2 separate regions of the Homo sapiens genome follow, and region 2 is linked to region 1. Evidence: promoter capture Hi-C in human tissues and cell types (Jung and others, 2019). All regions are on one chromosome and are shown on one strand. Each heading gives the region's core, a stretch centred on a gene start or on the middle of the fragment in contact. The rest is flanking DNA. Distances are from core to core; before and after follow the strand shown. Region 1 holds the start of MAFA (MAF bZIP transcription factor A). Region 2 overlaps ZC3H3 (zinc finger CCCH-type containing 3).

Region 1 (6,189 bases), core at 3,495-5,994:
GGCGCACCATCCGTGCTTGAGTAGGGGCACAAGGAAGGGGCGGAGCAGCGACAGGCTGAGGAGGGACTCTCAGGAGGCCCTGGGCAGAGCAGCGACAGGCTGAGGAGGGACTCTCAGGAGGCCCTGGGCTTGTTTTTTGGTTGTCGTTTTTAAATGCAAATGAGCCCCTGAGTGGAGGAGGGGCGCCCGGGCAGCAGGAGCAGGGTGGGGGTGGAGGCAGCCCCAGCAGCCCCCTAGCCCAGAAGATGCAGAGCCTCTGTCTGCGGGACGGAGAAGGTTCTGTCTCCTGTGATCAGCTCCGCACAGCAAACGCGGGCACTGGGGGTGTGGGGGTTCTCCCACCTAAATACATGCCCCAAAAATGACACTCCAGACCCCACGCGAGGCTCTACGCAGTTCCGAGCACTTACTCTTGGGGCAGCAGGGTGAGGTTCAGGAGGTCCACGCATGGCCTGGCAGGGTTAGCTCAGCCCTCCTGCGCAGCTGTGCTCTGGCAGGGGTGGAGGAGCCGTGCCAGGAGGGTCCCCTCAGGCCCCTCCCTGCAGTAAAATGCATGAGCTCAGGGCCCCAGCAGACAGCAGACTGCGTGGGGTCCCATGGTGGACAGCAGAGGGAGCTGTGGGGTTCAGCTGGTGAGCACCCCAACCTCCCTGTCCCTCCTCGTACCAGGTTTCCCTCCACCCAGAGCCCTCTGGGGGCCCACGATGACTTCCTGGGCCCTACACCAGCCCCCATGGGCTCTGATCTTGACCCAGCCACCCTGGGCCCTTCCAGGCCCCTCCCAGGCAGTGGCTCTGGGCTCCCTGCTCCCCGGCCTGAAGGGCTTGCCCCTCCATCTGCTCAGGTGTCTGTGAGGCCCCCCAACCCCACCAACCCAGAACTCCCCACCTAGCCAAGCTTCCGCCTTCTCACAAACGAGTGTGGGGGACAGGCCCTGAGGTAGCCTCATGACGCACCCCCCTGCCCAGCGTTCCCACCCTTGGGTGACCCCTTTCCTCCGACAGACTCCTGGAGGGTGGCCAGATGCCGCAGCTGTGATCACGGCACCTTACGCCCCGCTGAGAGCCTCTCCCTGCTGGCCCGAGGCGTCAGGGCCTGTGCTGGGGCTGCACCTGGTGAGGAGCTCAGGGTGGCCTCCAGCCTCCAGCCAGCAAGAAGCCGGTCCTCAGTTGTACAGATTTAAGGAAATAATTCTGCCAACAGCCTGACGATGCCTGGTGGCACAGCCCTTCTCGTCCCACGTTGAAACTGTAGCCCGGCCACCTCCTAGACTGCACCCTGGACGGGGGCTCCTGCTAAGCCCTGCCTGGACACCTGGCTCACAGAAGCCACAAGACCATAAATGTGTGTTAAGTTACTAAACGTGTGGTAATTGGTGAGACAGCAATAGAAGGCAAATCCACTATCATTTTACTCATTATTATTATTTGAGACAGAATCACTCTGTTGGCCAGGCTGAAGTGCACTGGCGTGATCTCGGCTCACTGCAACCTCCGCCTCCCGGGTTCAAGCGATTCTCCTGCCTCAGCCTCCCAAGTAGCTGGGACCACAGGTGTGCACCACCACGCCCGGCTAATTTTTGTATTTTTTAAGTAGAGACGGGCTCTTGCCAGGTTGGCCAGGCTGGTCTCAAAATCCTGACCTTGTGATCTGCCCACCTCGGCCTCCCAAAGTGCTGGGATTACAGGCATGAGCCACTGTGTCCGGCCTCATTTTACTTACTATTTTTATGGCTGATTTTCTGTTCTCTGAGGCCCACTCGGCAGACTGTATTTTCCAAAAACACTACAACAGTGCATCTCAGCCCACAGGCCCCTTCCTCACATGACCTACACAGGCAGTGTCCGTACCCCTGCCCAGGGGGGTGGCCGACCTCTACACACGAGGACCACCAGCATGGTGCAGTGTTCTGAGGCACATGCACCCCTCCACCTTCCTCGGATGCACACACTGGGAACCAGCAGCCATGCTGTGAGGAAGCCCAACCAGCTGCAGGGAGCAGCCCTGTGGAGGTGTCACAAGCAGCTGTTTTGGCCGACAGCTCTCACCATCTGCCAGGCCTGGGTGTGAAGACCCTGCCCAGTGGCACCATCCATCAGCTGTCCCGTTACCCCAACCCCCAAGTCCTCCCAGCTGTCAGGACCAGAGGCAAGCTGTGCCCCTATTCCCAGGACACATCTCCCCCTTACAGAGCCCATGGATGAAATAATACTTGTGCCATCAAGCTCCAGGGGGCTTCTCAACAAGGGACCCTGGCCACCTCCCTGATGGGATGTGCCCCCTAGGCAGGCTGGCTGACGTACTCTAGGTGCTCAAGAGAAGCCTGTTGGGTGCATTGAGTTACCCAGCCACACAGACTGCCCCTGCAGAATTCTGTGAGGACCAAATGCTGAAAGTTTGGAGGGTGTGAGAAGCCCTTGGGTTGGGAGGCTGGCGGGAAGGGAAAGCGCTTCTGGGAGCCCAGGGAACAGCGGAGCACAGGCGAATTCTAGGGAGCCATCCTGGCTTGGTGGTGACAGCACCAAGCCTCAAGGAGGGCTTGGCAGGCTTGGGGCGGATGGGTTGGGGTCAATCTTTGAGGCCACCCCAGCCTCCACCACCTTCTCCCACCTCTCAGAGCAAGATGAGGCACTTAGGCTTCCTGTGGGTGGTGGCGGGATGGGGGTGCCACTGAGTCCAAGCATGGCTGTGGGGTCAGCGTCCCTCAGCCTGAGGTCACAGCTGTGGCCCCGGGGAAGGTTCCCACTGCAACAGCCTGGGGTCAGGCGTCTCCTTCATTCCCACGGGTGTGCTGGAGTCCTCCTGGGCTGGTGACCAAACACCCTCTCCTGGTCTCCTTGGCCTGGCAGGAGCCACAGTGCGATGGGCGGGAGGGGGGGACAGTGGGGACACAGCCCGGTGCAAACACTCTCTCTTTCCTCCTCAACCCCCTTTCCAGTGTGCCCCAGGGCCTCCAGGGTGTGGTACCCAGAAATGCTGCTAGACCCTTGGAGGGGCCGTGGGAGGGCCCTGTAGCCCCAAGGCCTCTCCTGGGGCTGCAGGTGCAGACAACCTGGACTACCACCAGCTCCACTGCGCGGCGGCATCCTCCCTTCCCGGGCCTCCCTCTCAACACGGGGTGCCATAAAGGAAACCCCACACCCCTGGCTGGCTGACCACTCGTGTGGTCTCAAGTCCAGGTACCCAGTGTGGGGACTTGGCTCTGCTGCATGCCCACTTCATTTCTTCATCTGTAGAAGGGTGGGGAGCTCAGAGCCCCCTCTGGGACAGGATCGGGGGAGAGGGGTCCCTGCAGGTGGGTCCTCATGCTGTCCTTGGCCCTCCCTTGCGGGGAGGAAGGCCTGGTCTTCCCAAATCAGCAGTCCCAGCTCTGCCCAGAGGAGTGGGAGGGCCCAGGGAAGGGCCAGGGACACCCCGAGACACCTTAGGAAGCAGATGTTCAGTCCTCACTTCATGACAGTCTTCTTGTTACAAAACAATAGATCTTTGTAGAGGGAAGGAGGTGAGAGCCTGGTACTAAATCTGCGGCGCCGTGACCAGGCCTCCCTGTGGCCTCTGCGCAACTCCTTCCAGGCTTTTTTTCTCTACACAGGTGGTTACATTTTAGACTTTTTTTTTTTTTTTTTAAATTGCTGAAGTCATAGAACAGCAATGGAGAGAATTTCGAGAAGAAACAATAGGCCCACTTCGGGTCACCGGCCTTGTAACTCCTGGCGCAACCCTCCCATCACCCGGCTCGCTGGTGTCGGGGACCTGGGGTCACAGGCCCACCGCCCATCGTCACCTCCTTTGCCCCGTGAACCGGAGCCGTCTCCTCCCAGCAGGTGCACGGCCGCCAGGTGGAAATCCCCGCCTTCCCGTCTCAGTTACCCCCCGTCCCACTCCAGGCCCAGCAAGGCGCCTCCAGCCCTGCGGGGGGCGAAAGTGGGCAGTGGTGGCCGCTTGGGCGGGGATTCCTAACGCCCTGAGGGGCTGCCAGCCCGTGGGCCCCGCCCCCGCCGCTCGCACCCACCCGCGTTGTCCCGCGACCCCCACAGTCCTGCGCTCTCCGCGGCCCCCCACAAGCCGGCCCTCCGTCCCCGGCCCCTCGCGCCGCCCCGCACGCGTGTGTCCCCCTCCGCCCGCCCCGTGCTTCCCGGTGCCCGGAGGTGCCGGCAACTTTGTTGACCAAATTCCTGAACGCGTCTGAGCCGCGGGCTAAAAATAACCGGCTCAGCGCGCCGCGCTCTGCCGGGCCGCGCGGTGTCACCCGTGTCCAGAGGCCCGGAGGTCCCGCTGCCGCCGCCGCCGCCGCTAGCGGAGCTGCCCCCGGCCCCCAGGCCCGGCCGCAAACCCAGGGGGCCGAGGGGGCGTCCCGCCGCGTGGCCCGAGGCGGACGAGGCCCCGAGGGGGTCCCCGGGCGCGGTCCCCGTCTGCTTCCCCGGACTCTCCGGCCGCCGGGTGTGGGAGCTGAGGCCCCTGGAGACGGCAGTTGTCCCCTGAGGCGGCGCGCCCTCTGCCCGTGCAGTGCCCCGTGATGGCCACCAGAGGGCCCTGCCCTCTCCTCTAGCCGGCGGCCCGTCCCTACCTCTTCCCACAGCTGTTTCCCGCAGGAGATTGACAGCTGGGCTCTGAGTTGCCATGGGGATAAGCAAATGAGGGCGGCGGGGCTGGGGCTCCGATTGGCCCGGGGGCGCGCGCCCCTCCCGGGGAGGCGGGCCCAGGCACCCGGCTCTATAAAGGGGCGCGCGCGGCTTCGCGTTTAGCCGTGGGAGGCGGGGCCGGCCGGCGGCGCGGGTGGGGCGCGGGAGCGGTCCCGGAGCAGCCCGAGGCGGCGGCCGCGGGGAGGAGGCGGCGACGCGGGCCCGGGGTCGCCCGAGACACCTGGCCAGCGGTGCCCCTAGCGCGCCGCCCCGGAGTTGACCACGTGAAACTTTTCCCTGCGCCCCTCGGCGCCGCCGCCCCGCGCCGGCGCCCCCCCGCCCCCGCCGGGACCGCCGCCCGCGGGGAGCAGGGGGGGGAGAGGCCTGCAGCTCCCCCCCCACTCCCACGCCGCCCGTCGGGGCGCGGCCGGGCGCGGGCCCCGGGCGATGGCCGCGGAGCTGGCGATGGGCGCCGAGCTGCCCAGCAGCCCGCTGGCCATCGAGTACGTCAACGACTTCGACCTGATGAAGTTCGAGGTGAAGAAGGAGCCTCCCGAGGCCGAGCGCTTCTGCCACCGCCTGCCGCCAGGCTCGCTGTCCTCGACGCCGCTCAGCACGCCCTGCTCCTCCGTGCCCTCCTCGCCCAGCTTCTGCGCGCCCAGCCCGGGCACCGGCGGCGGCGGCGGCGCGGGGGGCGGCGGCGGCTCGTCTCAGGCCGGGGGCGCCCCCGGGCCGCCGAGCGGGGGCCCCGGCGCCGTCGGGGGCACCTCGGGGAAGCCGGCGCTGGAGGATCTGTACTGGATGAGCGGCTACCAGCATCACCTCAACCCCGAGGCGCTCAACCTGACGCCCGAGGACGCGGTGGAGGCGCTCATCGGCAGCGGCCACCACGGCGCGCACCACGGCGCGCACCACCCGGCGGCCGCCGCAGCCTACGAGGCTTTCCGCGGCCCGGGCTTCGCGGGCGGCGGCGGAGCGGACGACATGGGCGCCGGCCACCACCACGGCGCGCACCACGCCGCCCACCATCACCACGCCGCCCACCACCACCACCACCACCACCACCACCATGGCGGCGCGGGACACGGCGGTGGCGCGGGCCACCACGTGCGCCTGGAGGAGCGCTTCTCCGACGACCAGCTGGTGTCCATGTCGGTGCGCGAGCTGAACCGGCAGCTCCGCGGCTTCAGCAAGGAGGAGGTCATCCGGCTCAAGCAGAAGCGGCGCACGCTCAAGAACCGCGGCTACGCGCAGTCCTGCCGCTTCAAGCGGGTGCAGCAGCGGCACATTCTGGAGAGCGAGAAGTGCCAACTCCAGAGCCAGGTGGAGCAGCTGAAGCTGGAGGTGGGGCGCCTGGCCAAAGAGCGGGACCTGTACAAGGAGAAATACGAGAAGCTGGCGGGCCGGGGCGGCCCCGGGAGCGCGGGCGGGGCCGGTTTCCCGCGGGAGCCTTCGCCGCCGCAGGCCGGTCCCGGCGGGGCCAAGGGCACGGCCGACTTCTTCCTGTAGGCGCCGGACCCCGAGCCCGCGCCGCCGTCGCCGGGGACAAGTTCGCGCAGGCCTCTCG
Region 2 (6,189 bases), core at 2,355-4,854, 55 kb before region 1:
TCCTGGGGGTCAGCGCTGCCACTGGCTTGGGGGACAGAGGGGGCATGACTGCTGGCCCTTCCGGGCCTCGTCAGCGTCAGCAGCCACGGGCAGAAACATGGACAGCGGATCTGAGGAGGGTGCCATCCAGGCTTAACTTTAATTCTTGGTCAAGTTCAACATGGTTTGTGTTCCCTATTCGCTTGTCTCCAGCTGGCTTGTTTCTTATGGATTCATGGAACTCCAAGTGTTCAGGGGGAGTCGCCTTTTTGTCATTTTCCTCGCTTTGAATTTCGTGAGGATGTTTGCAGAAGTTTTTACTTTTCTGTGCACTTAAATCTGCCAGTCTCTTGAGATTTCATGTATTGATGTGCTGAGAACAGCCTTTCCTACCTAAGATGGCATGAGTTCTGGAAGCTTCCCTCTGGCTCTTCCCACTCATGTCTACCCCATGAGCACCTGCTTTTCTGCTCTCTGCCTACCTTGATTGGCTTTGCCTGTTCCTGAACTTCGTGGTGATGGGGCCGTGTAGCGGGTGCTGTTCTGTGTCTGAGCTTCGTGGTGATGGGGCCGTGTAGCGGGTGCTGTTCTGTGTCTGAGCTTCGTGGTGATGGGGTCGTGGAGCGGGTGCTGTTCTGTGTGTGAGCTTCGTGGTGATGGGGCCGTGTAGCGGGTGCTGTTCTGTGTGTGAGCTTCGTGGTGATGGGGCCGTGTAGCGGGTGCTGTTCTGTGTGTGAGCTTCGTGGTGATGGGGCCGTGTAGCGGGTGCTGTTCTGTGTCTGAGCTTCGTGGTGATGGGGCCGTGTAGCGGGTGCTGTTCTGTGTCTGAGCTTCGTGGTGATGGGGCTGTGTAGCGGGTGCTGTTCTGTGTGTGAGCTTCGTGGTGATGGGGTCGTGGAGCGGGTGCTGTTCTGTGTGTGAGCTTCGTGGTGATGGGGTCGTGGAGCGGGTGCTGTTCTGTGTGTGAGCTTCGTGGTGATGGGGCCGTGTAGCGGGTGCTGTTCTGTGTGTGAGCTTCGTGGTGATGGGGCCGTGTAGCGGGTGCTGTTCTGTGTCTGAGCTTCGTGGTGATGGGGCCGTGTAGCGGGTGCTGTTCTGTGTCTGAGCTTCGTGGTGATGGGGCTGTGTAGCGGGTGCTGTTCTGTGTGTGAGCTTCGTGGTGATGGGGTCGTGGAGCGGGTGCTGTTCTGTGTGTGAGCTTCGTGGTGATGGGGCCGTGGAGCGGGTGCTGTTCTGTGTCTGAGCTTCGTGGTGATGGGGCCGTGTAGCGGGTGCTGTTCTGTGTCTGAGCTTCGTGGTGATGGGGCCGTGTAGCGGGTGCTGTTCTGTGTCTGAGCTTCGTGGTGATGGGGCAGTGTAGCGGGTGCTGTTCTGTGTGTGAGCTTCGTGGTGATGGGGTCGTGTAGCGGGTGCTGTTCTGTGTGTGAGCTTCGTGGTGGTGGGGTCGTGTAGCGGGTGCTGTTCTGTGTCTGAGCTTCGTGGTGGTGGGGCCGTGTAGCGGGTGCTGTTCTGTGTGTGAGCTTCGTGGTGATGGGGCCGTGTAGCGGGTGCTGTTCTGTGTGTGAGCTTCGTGGTGATGGGGCCGTGTAGCGGGTGCTGTTCTGTGTCTGAGCTTCGTGGTGGTGGGGCCGTGTAGCGGGTGCTGTTCTGTGTGTGAGCTTCGTGGTGGTGGGGCCGTGTAGCGGGTGCTGTTCTGTGTGTGAGCTTCGTGGTGATGGGGCCGTGTAGCGGGTGCTGTTCTGTGTGTGAGCTTCGTGGTGATGGGGCCGTGTAGCGGGTGCTGTTGTGTGTCTGAGCTTCGTGGTGGTGGGGCCGTGTAGCGGGTGCTGTTCTGTGTGTGAGCTTCGTGGTGGTGGGGCCGTGTAGCGGGTGCTGTTCTGTGTGTGAGCTTCGTGGTGGTGGGGCCGTGTAGCGGGTGCTGTTCTGTGTCTGAGCTTCGTGGTGGTGGGGCCGTGTAGCGGGTGCTGTTCTGTGTCTGAGCTTCGTGGTGGTGGGGCCGTGTAGCGGGTGCTGTTCTGTGTCTGAGCTTCGTGGTGGTGGGGTCGTGTAGCGGGTGCTGTTCTGTGTGTGAGCTTCGTGGTGATGGGGCCGTGTAGCGGGTGCTGTTCTGTGTCTGAGCTTCGTGGTGGTGGGGCCGTGTAGCGGGTGCTGTTCTGTGTCTGAGCTTCGTGGTGGTGGGGCCGTGTAGCGGGTGCTGTTCTGTGTCTGAGCTTCGTGGTGGTGGGGCCGTGTAGCGGGTGCTGTTCTGTGTCTGAGCTTCGTGGTGATGGGGTCGTGTAGCGGGTGCTGTTCTGTGTGTGAGCTTCGTGGTGATGGGGTCGTGTAGCGGGTGCTGTTTTGTGTGTGAGCTTCGTGGTGGTGGGGTTGTGGAGCAGGTGCTGTTTTGTGTGTGAGCTTCTTGGTGGTGGGGTCATGTAGCGGGTGCCATTCTGTGTCTGACTTCTTTTGTTCATCACTTTTCATGGACTGAATTGTGTCCCCCACCAAGTTCATAGATGGAAACCCTAACCCCCAATGTGACTACGTTTGGGGATGGGGTCTTCAAACAGGTAATTGAGGTTAAATGGGATTATACGTGTTTGGCCCTGATCCACTAGGACTAATGTCCTTACAAGAATAAAAAGTGCCACCAGGGGCACATGCCCAGAGGAAAAGCCACGGGAGGACAGTACAAGCCAGGAAGGGAGACCTCACCAGAAACCAGCCTTGCCAGAGCCTCGGTGCGGCCCCAGCCTTGTGAGAAAGTGTGTTTCTGTTGTCGTAGCCGCCCACTGCAGAGCATTCCATGGCAGCAGCCAGGCAGCCGTAGGCGCCCACGTTTCTCACTCCGCTACATTGCCGCGCCTGGCGGGAACTCATTCTTTTTCCCTGCCGTGTGGTGTTCTGTGATATGGATACGCCATGTGTGTCCATCTTGCAGTTGATGGGTGGGTATCTGGAGTCTCTCCCATCCTTGCCAGTTATGAAGCTGCTGTCTTGGGTGTGTCTCTGGGTGCTGGTAGCCCTCGTTTGTGTGGAGTTGCTGCCTCAGAGGGTGATGGACACTGAGCTTTGGAAGCTGTCCCAGGTAGCTGTCCCAGCCTGCCAGCAGCAGCATGTGAGCATTGTGGCTGGCCCGTGGCCTTGGCCAGGATTCTCAGGCCCGTGTCTCCTGTTCTTGCCATGCTGGGGGGTGTGGGGCCTCACGCCCATCCCGCTGGCTGGCATTGCTGGGCATCTTTTTCTTCACTCAGGTCTCCTGGTGGTGCCCTTCTTTACTGTAAAGGGCCTCTTTGGGTGTTGGCCTGTTTTTGTGTGATTTGCCTTTTGGCTGATTTGTGGGAGTTTGTTTTTGTTGTGGATGTTTTCCGCCCCACACGTCTGCTTACAGCGAGGGACCTGCTCTTCCACGGCATCTGGTTTTTTAGCCTTTTATGAGTAGTGCTCTTTGTGTCCTGTTTAAGAAATATTTGTCTATCCCACATTCATGTTTTCTTCTAGAAGCTTGGCTATTTTAGCTTTTATATTTTAAGCCTGAGGCTTCTTGAATTAATTTTTACCTGTGGTCTGAGGTAGGGGCCAGAGTCCTTTTGTCTCCCCATGGAGACACATGTATTGAAATGAGATCCTGACCCACTCAGGTGCAGGGGCGCCTGCGTCACTCGGGTGAGCAGATGTATGGGCTGTTCCCAGACTCTCCATCCTCACTGTTGACCCACTTGTCTGTGCCCTTCGTTATTCCTGAATGCTTACTCTTCCAGACCACCTTAGAAACACTGGACCGGGTTCTCGGCCTCACCAAGGAACCAGCCTCCAAATCATAGATTTGCATTTTCTTCTTCTTAGGATTTCAGCCACACACACAACAAACACTTCAGATCCCTGGCCCCGCCTGCCTCCCTCCTGTTCTCAGCACCAGGGGGACTCATGCTCCATAACTTCCACATGTTGGCCCGGCGCCCCTGCTGTAGAATTTTTCCTCAGTTATTTGAGAGTGTTTCTGGCTTCTCTTCTTTGTATGTTCCAACTGGTGTTTGCCACTGTCTTGCAGGGCTTTGGTTTTCACACATCTTTGCTTCATAATCAGTTCTGGTTACCCCTCTGAAGTGAGTGGGTTTTTATTGTGGTTTTCCCGTGGTTTTTGCAGATACCACTGTCCTTGCAAGGGCCGCATGAAGTTTGCTGAGGTCACCACGCCTTTCCAGGGAGCTGAGCCGGATTTGCTGTGTGGTCTTCGGAGGGGCTGTCCCAGGGCCTGGGAGTGGGGGGATGTCTGCTGTGAGTCTCTTTAGACAGCAGTGACCTGAGGGGTCCTTGAGGGCCTAGGCAGGATTCCTGGCCAGCCTGCCCCTCAGTAGCTGGCACAGACAGAGTGGGTCCTGGGCCGATGACCCAGCCCAAAGGGTGGCACAGGTGCAGAGGGTCGCGGGCCCGCCAAGGACAGCTGCACCTGGCCGCCTGGCACCTCTGCCGGACGAGCTGAACTCGGCACTCCGGGGCCATGAAGTCCCACTAATACTTGTTTTTTTGCAGCTGACATACAAAACACCAATAGCTTCAGCTGAAATGGATTTTTAAAAGTGTCATTTTATGGAGAATTTTACTTTCCATCTTGTTGTTTATTAGGCTCTTAAAGGGAAAGCTTGTAATGCATCCATTGATCGAAATACCAATTGAATAGATGTGAGCACATAAAATACATAAAATAGTCCCAGCCCCTCATAATGGAGCACGACGTTTGTAACGGAGGCAGTGTCATTAGTATTGCCCCCTGCCACCCAGCCAGGCTGCAGAGGCGCCTCCGAATCCTTCTTATTCATTACTGGGGTGAGACGGGGCAGGGATGGCCCTCGGAAGGACCAGTGCCCAGTGAGGAAGTCCTCAGATGTCACAACAGAGCCTCCACCCCACGAGTCAGCCCAGGGGCCGGGGGAGCCAGCCGTGCTCAGCCTCAGCTGGACCAGTCGCACTCAAGGCTGTCCCTGTCCTCAGGGGCCCCCAAACAAGGCTGCTGTCCCTAAGGCTGCATGGCTCTTTCCCCTCATGGCGCCCCTGGCCGCTGGTGCAGGGCTCTCAGCTCCCACCCAGGCCTGTAACCCTGCCTGCCTGCTGAAGGTGTATCCTGGAAAGCCAAGCGGCTGGACGGTCTCTGCAGGCCCCCATACTGGGAGGTAGATGCTGTGGGGGTGACAGCGGGACTAGAGAGCCCATCTGGCCATGGTGCCGGAGCCCCTGCTGAACAGCAGCTACTGCCCCAGGTACCTGGAGGCCCCTTGGAGCTGGTGAGGGCCCCACGGTCTGGGTATAGGGGTTTGGAGGATAGGGGGCCAGACTTGTGAGGAGTAAGTTAGAAGAGGGTTCTTTCTGTGAGATGAGGTGGCCATAGCCATCGTGAGGCCTGCGTGGCCACCACGTAGTCAGATTTCAGCCCTGGCAGCCACAGGCCCTTGAGCATTTAGCCCTGCCCCTGAGATCGTGGGGGCAGGGTCCAGGAGCCGGGAGCCCGCCTAGCACCCCCACTGCACGCCTCTGCTCTGTCTGGCCTGAGCGCCCCTCCCTGCCGGCCCAGCTTGGGCCCCTCCCATGAGGGACTCTGTCTTCCTCCTCCGGAACTCAGGACATTCTGTGAGTGTCTGTCCAGTAGAACCACCTCCCCTGCATTGCCCCAGCCTCACGGGCTGGGCCTCTCCAGCCAAGGGCCCCATGTAGCCTGGCCAACCCATTCGGGGGCCGCAGTGGCTCAGCACCAGGAGAAACCGGGAGGGAGGCTTCCAGCCAGCCCCACACGCGCACACGCATGGACACACATGCATGCTCGCCCTCCCGAGCCAGCACGGTGATGGGGGTGTCAGCGTTTCCAGTGGAAAGCCCCACTTAAGCAGTTTAGTGCCTGTCATGGCGCAGCTCTGCCTGACCTACTTGGGGATTCGCTGCGGCGCCGCCTCCCCCCGGCCGCTCCTCTTCTGCTGACTTCGCACTCCCCGCTCGGGCTCCAAGCTTCGAAAAATTGTGCTCCATTTCCTGAAAATGCTTCTCCGGTTGTTTTCTCTGTGTCTCAGCTGGACTGCCTGTTTACTGCACGTTGCCACTGGCCTGGGCGGCCTGGCCAGGGGCTGCTGGGTCCCCGGCCCACACACAGACACAACCCCGGCCTAGAAGGCCCTGAGGTCGTGTCCCCGTGGCCCGGTACCTGCTCCTGTGGTCCTGCCTCTTCTGGCTGCTAGGGCCGGG

What was found. The method cuts DNA at HindIII sites, captures the fragments that hold promoters and counts their contacts. A contact is called where the count stands out against the background at its distance.
Region 2: a fragment that was not itself captured here is called in contact with the fragment with the promoter of MAFA in region 1 in 1 of the 25 tissues and cell types used here (IMR-90 fibroblasts).

Annotation. Positions count from the first base shown.
Region 1 is chr8:143,429,287-143,435,475 of GRCh38, reverse strand. MAFA (MAF bZIP transcription factor A) reads left to right here and starts at 4,744. Exons shown (of 1, transcript NM_201589.4): 1 at 4,744-6,189. The coding sequence starts at 5,070. The coding sequence ends at 6,131. RefSeq lists a silencer at 4,388-4,827. The HindIII fragment of the contact is 28,870 bases long and covers 1-6,189 here.
Region 2 is chr8:143,482,864-143,489,052 of GRCh38, reverse strand. The region is part of intron 4 of ZC3H3 (zinc finger CCCH-type containing 3); the gene reads left to right. Among named protein-coding and RNA genes, the nearest start is that of SNORD149, 20 kb to the left of the region's middle. RefSeq lists enhancers at 199-735, 736-1,273. The HindIII fragment of the contact is 3,349 bases long and covers 1,930-5,278 here.